Linked DNA regions of Homo sapiens: region 1 is linked to region 2. Evidence: promoter capture Hi-C in 16 types of primary human blood cells and fetal thymus (Javierre and others, 2016). All regions are on one chromosome and are shown on one strand. The core of a region is centred on a gene start or on the middle of the fragment in contact, and the rest is flanking DNA. Distances in the headings are between cores, read along the strand shown.

Region 1 (5,499 bases), core at 1,138-3,637, 84 kb after region 2:
GCCAAGTATTCAGGTGAGCCCAGCCCTTCCTTTATTTCCATGAGGAATTTATTTGCATGATATTTCTCTATTATTTTGCAAAACAAATGTTTTGAAAATAGGGATTTAAAAAACTTTATAGAGGTAAAAATGAGTTTACCAGTTTCCTTCAGTGGTGACACTTTAATATAGAACACATAGGATATAGTATTTCTTTAGTGAAAGCCTATGGACAAGATTATGAATATGTGGACTATCACATTTTATAATTTCCACCTACTTTCCAATCTATGTTCCAACCTACTTTCTTAACTCATATATTTTATACATTGGAATGAATCGAGTCTTTCATATTGCACAAGGTTAGCAGGAATAAAACACACCTCAGCTGTCTTCTCAGGATTCTCTTTAGCATTCAAATATGTAAAAGGTTCTGAAAGATTTCTTCCATGTGAAGATTTTTTTCTGTGGCTGATTCTGCCTCCATGTACCTCAGCTTGGTGGTCCTAAAAAATCTTGATTGCTTCTTGACCTATTTACAGTATAATCATTTATTAATGGGGTGGTAGTAGAAGGTTGGATTTATGCCTAAAGAATGAAATGTGTGTGTATCACACTTCACTAAGATCTATATCAAAGACAGACATCAAGTCTAATGCCACACTAAAGGCCATCGGACAAAACCAATAAAATATGTCAAATAAAATGTCATTTTAAGTGTTGTAATTGGCATTTGTGACATAGGCAATTACATGTTTTAACAGAGAATTCCAGTATGTTGTTTTAGTGGTACAGCCAGATGAAGTGTGTCTGTGGGCTATCAAAGTGGGAGATTGGGGATACTGGCTTTGTTTCAACTGTCTCACGTACTCAAACCTTAGACCATCTTATGTACACAGATCCTAGACCAGTAGTTGATTTTATTTATTAGGTCTACTGAAAAATTCAGTTGGAAATAACCCAATCTGGGATTAACTACTTCCATATTCTTTTGTATAACATTTTAGTAAAGCTCAGTATATCAAGTGATTGTCATCCAGAAGGGGTGGATGACAAGGTAATCTTGATTCCAGAGACCTTTGAGTATTAATTAAAAACACACTTTTAGCCAGGTATGGTGTTGCAAGCTGTAGCCCACCTGCATGGGAGGCTGAGGCAAGAGGACAGCTTGAACCCAAGAATTGGAGGCCCACCTAGATAATATAACAAGACTCTGTCTCTTCAAAAAAAGACTCTTTTTAGACTAGTGTTGTATTTGGTAGTATTTTGCACATGATAGACTCTGTACAATAGTGTGGGGGATACATTTTTTTTTTTTGACATGGAGTCTCGCTCTGTCACCCAGGCTGGATACATTTTACAAGTTCTGCAGTGTTCACATTTCAGATGTACAATCACTTGGGGTAGAAGACAATGTTGCTGACACCAACAATGTTACTGAGGGAAGATCCTATGGCAGAACTACGGTTATAAGGTATTTTGTAAAAGAAAATCTCCTGACCAAAATTTATTAGATGCATAAAATTGTTTTTAAGCAATGGAGAGACATAATCACTAAACTCAGTGAGCTATTGCAATCAAACTTTCCAGGGATTGTTTCCTTCAATTCAGAGGTCACCAAGGAATGTAAAATAAGTGCAGAGGTAGGAAGCAGTGCTTCAGTGCAGCAGATCTCAGTGACTTTGTGTTTTGAGGCTATGTATTATCCCCCTGATAACTTTGAAGATGAATGTTGTATTTCATAACCAGTAAAATAATTGTGTAATGAGGAGAGGAGTAGGCTACTGCCTGTGATCATCGAAATGAGAATCACATAATATTCCTGTAATGAAATCACTGAAACTATTGGGAAGGGGGTGTATTTGAAGATAAGTATAAATTGCACCTTCTAAAAGGCAATTTTGGTATTACTGATACTCTCCGGAAAAAGTTGAAATAAATCAACTTGGAGGTACTTAGAAAAGTGGAGAAAATGTTAGGAACAATGAAAGAAAGATAAAATGTATCCAGTATATTTCTAATGAGTAAGTATGGAAAATTACTGTACTCTGAGACGGTTTAGGCCAAGTCTGTGTTATGGCTATCTTTATATAGATAGTGCATGTTTGAAGATTGGGGAAAGCTTATGTCAATAAATGTTTATGTACTTAATCTACATGATTTGCCTAAAAATCCTCAAAGTTGGGATGAAGGCATTCCTAAGAGTACATTTTTAGACGTCATTAAATATACAGACGTATCCACGTAGTTTTTGTTCTTTCAGTTAGGCACACAATTATAATTATTGCACTGGTTAACTTGAAGCAGCAGAGGCTGTAGTTTCCTAGTGCTGACTCTGGGCGCCGCTGTTGGCCAAAGTGGAGAGCTTGGCGCTCCAGATCTCCTCGCGCAGCCGCAGCGCGCTTTCCAGGGCAGCCCCAGCTCAGACTCCCCAGCGCCAGCCTTTACACCGCTTCCTCCTCGGAAAAAGAAGAATTTTTTCTTGAACTGGAACTGCAACTAAAGTCCGTTCGGAGATCCAAAAATCTGCAATACAGAGGTTATTTGTAACCCGGCGTCTCCAGGCTGGTGAGCAAGCTGAGGAGAGCAAGAGGGATGGGGAGCGGCGCCGGGGAGCTGGGCCGGGCTGAGAGGCTGCCAGTGCTCTTTCTCTTCCTGCTGTCTTTGTTCTGCCCGGCGCTCTGTGAGCAGATCCGCTACAGGATTCCCGAGGAAATGCCCAAGGGCTCCGTAGTGGGGAACCTCGCCACGGACCTGGGGTTCAGCGTCCAGGAGTTACCGACTCGAAAACTGCGCGTCAGTTCGGAGAAGCCTTACTTCACCGTGAGCGCAGAGAGCGGGGAGTTGCTTGTGAGCAGCAGGCTAGACAGGGAGGAGATATGCGGGAAGAAGCCAGCTTGTGCTCTGGAATTTGAGGCTGTTGCTGAAAATCCACTGAACTTTTATCACGTGAATGTGGAGATCGAGGACATTAATGACCACACGCCAAAATTCACGCAAAATTCCTTTGAGCTGCAAATAAGTGAGTCTGCACAGCCTGGCACACGATTTATATTAGGATCTGCCCATGATGCGGATATTGGTAGCAACACACTGCAGAATTACCAACTCAGTCCCAGTGATCATTTCTCACTGATAAATAAAGAGAAATCAGATGGCAGTAAATACCCTGAGATGGTATTGAAGACACCTTTGGACAGAGAAAAGCAGAAATCCTACCACTTGACTTTGACTGCCTTGGACTTTGGAGCTCCACCCCTAAGCAGCACTGCACAGATACACGTTCTAGTGACTGATGCCAATGATAATGCTCCAGTGTTCAGTCAAGACGTATACAGGGTGAGCCTTTCAGAAAACGTGTACCCGGGGACCACGGTGCTACAGGTGACTGCCACGGACCAGGATGAGGGTGTCAATGCCGAGATTACTTTCTCTTTCAGTGAAGCTAGCCAGATCACCCAATTTGACCTGAACTCTAACACCGGGGAAATTACTGTTTTAAATACATTAGATTTTGAAGAAGTCAAAGAATATTCCATAGTTTTGGAAGCAAGGGACGGTGGAGGAATGATTGCGCAATGCACAGTGGAGGTAGAAGTCATAGATGAAAATGACAACGCCCCAGAAGTGATATTCCAGTCTCTACCCAACCTAATTATGGAGGACGCCGAGCTGGGAACACATATTGCTTTGCTCAAAGTCCGTGACAAGGATTCCAGACACAATGGAGAAGTGACTTGTAAATTGGAAGGTGATGTTCCATTTAAAATATTAACTTCTTCAAGAAACACGTATAAATTAGTGACAGATGCTGTTCTAGACCGCGAGCAGAATCCAGAGTACAATATAACCGTTACGGCAACAGATCGGGGCAAGCCTCCCCTCTCCTCCAGTTCCAGCATCACCCTGCACATTGGTGATGTAAATGACAACGCTCCGGTTTTCTCACAGTCTTCCTATATAGTCCACGTGGCCGAGAACAACCCGCCTGGAGCCTCTATTTCACAAGTCAGGGCTTCTGATCCGGACTTGGGGCCCAACGGCCAAGTCTCTTACTGCATCATGGCCAGTGACCTGGAGCAGCGGGAGCTGTCATCCTACGTGTCCATAAGCGCGGAGAGCGGGGTGGTGTTCGCGCAGCGCGCCTTCGACCACGAGCAGCTGCGCGCCTTCGAACTCACACTGCAGGCCCGCGACCAGGGCTCGCCAGCGCTCAGCGCGAACGTGAGCCTGCGCGTGTTAGTGGACGACCGCAACGACAATGCGCCACGGGTGCTGTACCCCGCGCTGGGTCCCGACGGCTCTGCGCTCTTCGATATGGTGCCGCACGCTGCAGAGCCTGGCTACTTGGTGACCAAGGTAGTGGCGGTGGACGCAGACTCAGGACACAACGCCTGGCTGTCCTACCACGTGCTGCAGGCTAGCGAGCCCGGGCTCTTCAGCCTGGGGCTGCGCACGGGCGAAGTGCGCACAGCGCGTGCCTTAGGCGACAGGGACGCCGTCCGCCAGCGCCTTCTGGTCGCCGTGCGTGACGGTGGACAGCCACCACTCTCGGCCACTGCCACGTTGCACCTGGTCTTCGCCGACAGCTTGCAGGAGGTGCTGCCGGATATCACTGACCGCCCCGACCCCTCTGACCTCCAGGCTGAGCTGCAGTTTTACCTAGTGGTGGCCTTGGCCTTGATCTCAGTGCTCTTCCTCGTGGCCATGATTCTGGCCATTGCCTTGCGCCTGCGACGCTCCTCCAGCCCCGCCTCCTGGAGCTGCTTCCAGCCTGGTCTCTGTGTTAAATCCGAATCCGTGGTTCCCCCCAACTACAGCGAGGGGACTTTGCCTTATTCCTACAATCTATGTGTTGCACATACAGGAAAGACGGAGTTTAATTTCCTAAAATGTAGTGAGCAGTTGAGTTCAGGACAAGACATACTTTGCGGTGATTCATCTGGGGCCTTATTTCCACTTTGTAATTCCAGTGAATTGACTTCCCATCAGGTGAGTTTCCTTTAAGTATAATTTAATGCTCATTGCCTACCCATTTCTCCATATTCACAAGAAAATATACATATTTGCAGGAAAATATATAATTTTTAGATGTCATGGATCATTTTAGGAAAGTTGTAGTCAGTTAAAAAGCTGTCATATCATTCTACAAAGGAGGAGTAAAGTAGGAGCAATTGTGTGGCCCAACATTTGTTTGTTTTTTAGCCAAGCTTAGATTTATAAAGCAATGAGGGTGTGGTTTTAACCACAAAGTGAAAGTGTTAGACAGTTGTTGGCTCTCTCCTAAAAAGTGAATGAGATTTTTCCTATACATTTTCCTTCTTGTTGACTAATATATGATGAATACTTTTTTCAGCTTGGATATACCATAAATATAAAAATAATAAAGCCAAAGAATTTAAGCTAAAATTCAACACTTTTCTTAACTAATTTAACTGGTATGGTCTCCATAGTAGTCCACTGTTTTGTTTCCTGTGTTAACTTCCCTTTTGTTTCAAAAGCTCTTAGAATAAGGAGTCA
Region 2 (5,396 bases), core at 1,683-4,182:
GGGAAGGTATTATGGACCCCAAGGTAAACTTCAAGAAAGGGTTGTCCCTAACATGACTCATTGTGGAGCAAAAGCACTAAGTTCTGTCTAGTTCTATCTGAGAGTAGATGACTTTTACCCACAAGTATTATTAGCAAATAGGGAACAAAAGCTTCTCTTAGCTTTGTCACTTTCTGTTCCCCAGGAAGGTTTCTGGCTGATGGAGGCAGAAAGGACAGTGAGTGACCCAAAATGAATCAACAACCTCTAAATGGGCCGATAGAACACCCTTGAGTCCTACCCAGGCCAGGACCCAGAGACTGGAAGCTAAGAACTGTTATCAGCCACATGGGTCTTCATCAAAGCAGAGGTGCACAGCTCCTTCCTCGAACTAAAGCCCAGCTCGTTTGAGGGGGAGAACGGAAGCTGGCGCAGGAAGGCTGTGTGGATTCCCCAAGGCCTGATGATACTCTAGATCATCCCTAACCATATAGGCAGAGTGCAGAATATAATCCCACTTTGAAAATGGATAACACTATATTAAGGGTATTGTTTCTTGGGAAAATCCACAATGCTTACTCTGAAACTTTTAACTCAAGAATGTCAAAGCCACACTGGTATGCAGGTACCTTCTCCTCTTAAAAATATAGATGAGGCCAGGCGCAGCGGCTCACACCTGTGATCCCAGAACTTTGGGAGGCCTAGGCGGGTGGATCACCTGAGGTTAGGAGTTCATGACGAGCCTGGCCAACATGGCAAAGCCCCATCTCTACTAAAAACACAAAAGTTAGCCGGGTGTGGTGGCGTGCACCTGTAGTCCCAGCTACTTGGGAGGCTGAGGTAGAAGAATCACTTGAACCCAGGAGGCGGAGGTTGCAGTGAGCCAAGATCGTGCCACTGCACTCCAGCCTGGGCAACAAGAGTGAGACTGCATCTCAAAAAAAAAAAGTATATATATATATATACTTTTTCTCATATATATATATATATGAGAGAGAGAGAGAGAGAGGAGTATTTTGGTATCAAGCACCACATGAAGATGTTTCAAAACTTGAACCGCCTAATGTAGTGCGCATGTTAAGCAGACTTTAAAAGAGATCCTGGCCGGGTGCGGTGTCTCATGCCTATAATCCCATCACTTTGGGAGGCTGAGCTGGGTGGATCACCTGAGGTCAGGAGTTCGAGACCAGCCTGGCTAACATGGTGAAACCCCATCCCTACTAAAAATACAAAAATTAGCTGGGCATGGTGGCGGGCACCTGTAATCCCAGCAACTCGGGAGGCTGAGGCAGGAGAATCGCTTGAACCAGGCAGGCAGAGGTTGCAGTGAGCCAAGATCATGCCACAGCACTCCAGCCTGGGCGACAGAGTGAGACTCTGTCTCCAAAAAAAAAGAAAAAAAGAGAGAGTGATCCTAAGTAATCATTCATACCTATCTTCACAAAATATGGTCAATTCTGGGTTTGGGGGGCTGATATTTGAGATTATATATAGAACTAAATTGTTTCACTCACGACATAGAATCATCCAAACTGCATGTACACACAAATGGCTTTATGCAAAGGCCCTGACAGAACGATATTTAGTTTTTCAGATTAGGTACATAGGGCCAACCAGCCCACCCTGTACATTCCAGCAAGTGCAAGAGCAGCAACTTTCCTATTTCAATACAATTATGGGCAGAAATTATATGATGTAAAATAGAGGCCCTTCCATAAAGTTAAGATTTAGGGTAGAAGAAGGGAAGATAAAACCAAAATTCCCATGAAGTCAAAATTAGACAGTGGTCTTGTACTCTGCTGAACCCTGTGATGAACTGTAGTCCTCAAACTCATGGACTCGGATCCAGGTTCACCAAGACACTTCAGTATGCTTCCAACTGTTTCATCATCATCTTCCTGCTGTATTCGTAGGCCACAAACAGTGCCCCATTGGCAGGGATTGCTCGAATCATAGTAGCTTTCAGTCCAGAATATAAGGCTACTATTCCTTCATTTCTCACAACACTTAAGAGGGTACCAATAAATCCTGCCTGTTTCCCATACATGGAAAGAACTTGAATTCTGGATTTAATACAATCCACTGGGAACACGACAAGCCACAGGCAAATTCCAGCAACTCCACCACTTAACATCAAATGGACAGGGCCTAGTTCATCTTTTGATCTCCCTGACGCAAAAAACGATCGGCTCAGTTCATAGCCACCAAAGAAAAAGAAATAACCCGGTACTTCTTGAAGTAGAGTACTCGAGAGTCCATGGTAGAAGCCCAAGGGGCCATCCTTTTTAAGGATACCCTTCACGACAGACCAAATTGTATTATGGCTTTTTGCTATCTTCCCTGACATCTCCATTTCATACATGGTCTGTAGCCGGCACTTCACAAGCTCAGTGGGGCAGAGAGCCAGTGCAGCAAATGCAGAGGCGAAGGACCCCGCGGCTGCAGTCTGGAGATCACTCAGCTTTGCCTGCTTGTCCATTCCAGCCACTTTCCTGACAAACTGCTGGCAGAACCCGTAGCACATGAAGAGGACCGAGTTTTCGGCGACGTAGGCCATAAGTGCCGGGCCGGTGCCCTTGTAGAAGCCCCGGAGACCCACTTGAGCGTATGTCTTCAGGAAGCAGTCGGTGAGGCCCTTGTACAGGTCAGGGAACGTCTGCATCTTCACTTTTATTGTGTCGAAGGGCTGCCCAGTCAGTACACACGCTGTCCCCCCTGCGGCCCCCGCTGTGAGGTCGATGGCGGCTTGGATGCCAGGACCGGACTTCATGTTCGCTCACTCGTCTGAGGGTCCCAGTGGAAGGCGACTAACTCCCCAGAGCGTGAGACCGGCTTTTCACGTCCAGCCGCAGCGAGCGCGGGGAATGGAGTTGGGGGTGGTGGGGTGGCTCTACCGCCTGTTCTGGGCTCTCACCCCAGTGCGGGGGAAGCCGCTCAACCCTACGCTCCGCCGCGGGCCGCCCCCTCCCCGCGCACTAAAATAACCCCCAGCTGCCGGCCCAGCGCGCGGCTCACTAGCGTTCCTGCGGCTCCTGGCGCACTGGCCGGGCCCCCAGCCGCCTCCAGCCTGGAGCCGCCATCCCTGCACCCGCAGGCGGGGGACGCGGACCGAATAAATACTTTTAGTGTACTGCGACTGGGCGCGGTGGCTCACTCCTGTATCCCAGCACTTTGGGAGGCCGAGGCGGGAGGATCGCTTGAGCCCAGGAGATCGAGACCAGCCTGGGCAATATGGCAAGACTCCATTTCTACAAAAACGAAAAAATACCCGGGCGCGATGGCGCGCGCCTGTGGTCCCAGCAATTCAGGAGAATGAAGCGAGGATCGCTTGAACCCGGGAGGTCGATGCTGCAGTGAGCTATGATCGCACACTGCACTCCAGGGTGGGCGAAAGGGTGAGGCTCTGTCTCAAAACAAAACCAAAACCAAGAAAACATGTAAAGCTTTTCGATAAATTCTTGCAATTATGGCCGGGAACTCTAGACGCCGCAGTTCAGCTGGCGGCAAAAGAAATGCTGTCCTAATCAGTCAGCCCTGCTTCTTTTCTTTTCTCTCTTTTTTTTTTTTTTGACTTAGGGTCTCACTCGGCCGCCTAAGCTGGAGTTCAGTGGCGCGATCCTGGCTCACTGCAGCCCCAATCTCCTGGCCTCAGGCGATCCTCTCACCTCAGCCTCCTGAGTAGCTGAGACTAGAGGGACTACAGGCGCAAGCCACCACATCTGGCTAAATTTTGTATTGTACAGACGGGGTTTCGCCATGTTGCCCAGGCTAGTCTCGAACTCCTGAACTCAAGCAATCCACCCACTGGCCTCCCAAAGTGTTGGGGCTTACAAGCATGAACCACCACACCCGGCCTATCCCACGCTTCTTACCATGCAAAAAACAAAAACAAACAACCCGAAAAGAAGATGCCCTCACTTGAATAGACCCTGAATTCAGAGGGTCAATCTACAAGAAAACTGCTTTAAAGTAGATAAGACAGGCCAGGTGTGGTGGCTCATGCCTGTAATCCCAACACTTGGAGAGGCTGCGGAGGGAGGCTCATTTGAGCCTAGGAGTTCAAGGCTAGCTTGGGCAGCAAAATGAGACACCCCTTACCCCCTACAAAAAATAAAGTAGAGAAGACAAACTGTCAGAGGCGCTGGAACCACAGCAACTCCATCTTGACTAGGGACTGAGTAAAATAAGGCCGAGACCTACTGGACTGCATTCCCAGGAAGACAGGCATTCTAAGTCACAGGATGAGATAGGAGGCCGGCACAAGATACGGGTCACAAAGACCTTGCTGATAAAACAGGTTTCAGTAAAGAAGCCAGCCAAATCCCACCAGAATCAAGATGGCATAATAAGTGACCTCTGGTCGTCCTTACTGCTCATTATACGCCAATTATAATGCATTAGCATGCTAAAAGACACGCCCACCAGCGCCGTGTCCACTTACAGATGCCATGGCAACAATAAGAAGTGACCCTATGTGGTCTAAAAAGGGGGAGGAATCCTCAGTTCCGGTAACTTTGGACCCCTTTCCCAGAAACCTCATGAATAATCCACCCCTTGTTTAGCTTACATTCAATAAAAAACTGTAAGTATCCTTAGTCAAGCCGCCCAGGCCACTGCTGTGCCTATGGAGTAGCCATTCTTTTGCTTCTTTACTTCTCTAATAAACTTGCTTTCACTTGACTCTATGAACTTGCCCCAAATTATTTCTTGCATGAGATCCAAGAACAATCTCTTGGGTCTGGATCGGGACCCCTGTCCGGTAACGAAACGATCTGAGGGTTGCTACATGAGAGACAGTGACTGCTTTTGATCAGAAAACCCTCAGCGATCTGCCCACGCTCCTCACTTTCCTGGGGGGCAAGGAGGGGAGTAGGGCACTGTGGGAATCCTTAGCCCTGGAGATGTGCTACTGCTTTCCTGCAGAGCTGGAGAAATGCTATCACATGGCAACATCCCCAAGGATCTGGGGTTGCAGCCCTGGGAACTGGTGGAACGTGGAGTCCTTATCATTTCTGAAGATAGAACACGGCACTATAAAATCAACTTGGAAAATGGATAGTATTTATATACTGCATTGCTAAGAAACTTGATAGAAAAGAGCTGGGTGGCTCAGCACTATGCTTTCTAAGTTTTGAGATTCTCTTTGAGGACCCACACAGCCTCATGCAGAAGTAGAAATTTGTCGTTTGTACACTGTTGGTGGGAATGTAAAATAGTTCAACCCCTATGGAAAGCAGTATGGAGATTTCTCAAAGAACTAAAAATAGAACACCCATTCAACCCAGCAATCCCACTATTAGGTATCTACCCAAAGGAAAAGAAATCATTTTATCAAAAAGACACCTGTGCTGGGGACAGTGACTTACACCTGTAATCCCAGAATTTTGGGAGCCCAAGCCAGGTAGATCGCTTGAGCC

Evidence for each region. Contacts are between HindIII fragments. The CHiCAGO score rates a contact against its expected background, and 5 or more counts as called.
Region 1: a contact is called between the fragment with the promoter of PCDHGB4 here and the fragment with the promoter of SLC25A2 in region 2, in 1 of 17 cell types (M1 macrophages). The highest score is 6.6, in M1 macrophages.

The regions. Positions count from the first base shown.
Region 1 is chr5:141,385,311-141,390,809 of GRCh38, forward strand. It overlaps PCDHGB4 (protocadherin gamma subfamily B, 4), which reads left to right and starts at 2,388. Exons shown (of 4, transcript NM_003736.4): 1 at 2,388-4,971. The coding sequence starts at 2,575. The region is part of intron 1 of PCDHGA1 (protocadherin gamma subfamily A, 1); the gene reads left to right. The region is part of intron 1 of PCDHGA2 (protocadherin gamma subfamily A, 2); the gene reads left to right. All of the region lies in intron 1 of PCDHGA3 (protocadherin gamma subfamily A, 3), which reads left to right. It also overlaps PCDHGB1, PCDHGA4, PCDHGB2, PCDHGA5, PCDHGB3 and PCDHGA6, and 2 more genes. The HindIII fragment of the contact is 3,088 bases long and covers 2,100-5,187 here.
Region 2 is chr5:141,301,117-141,306,512 of GRCh38, forward strand. SLC25A2 (solute carrier family 25 member 2) reads right to left here and starts at 2,933. Exons shown (of 1, transcript NM_031947.4): 1 at 1,519-2,933. The coding sequence starts at 2,749. The coding sequence ends at 1,844. The HindIII fragment of the contact is 3,271 bases long and covers 150-3,420 here.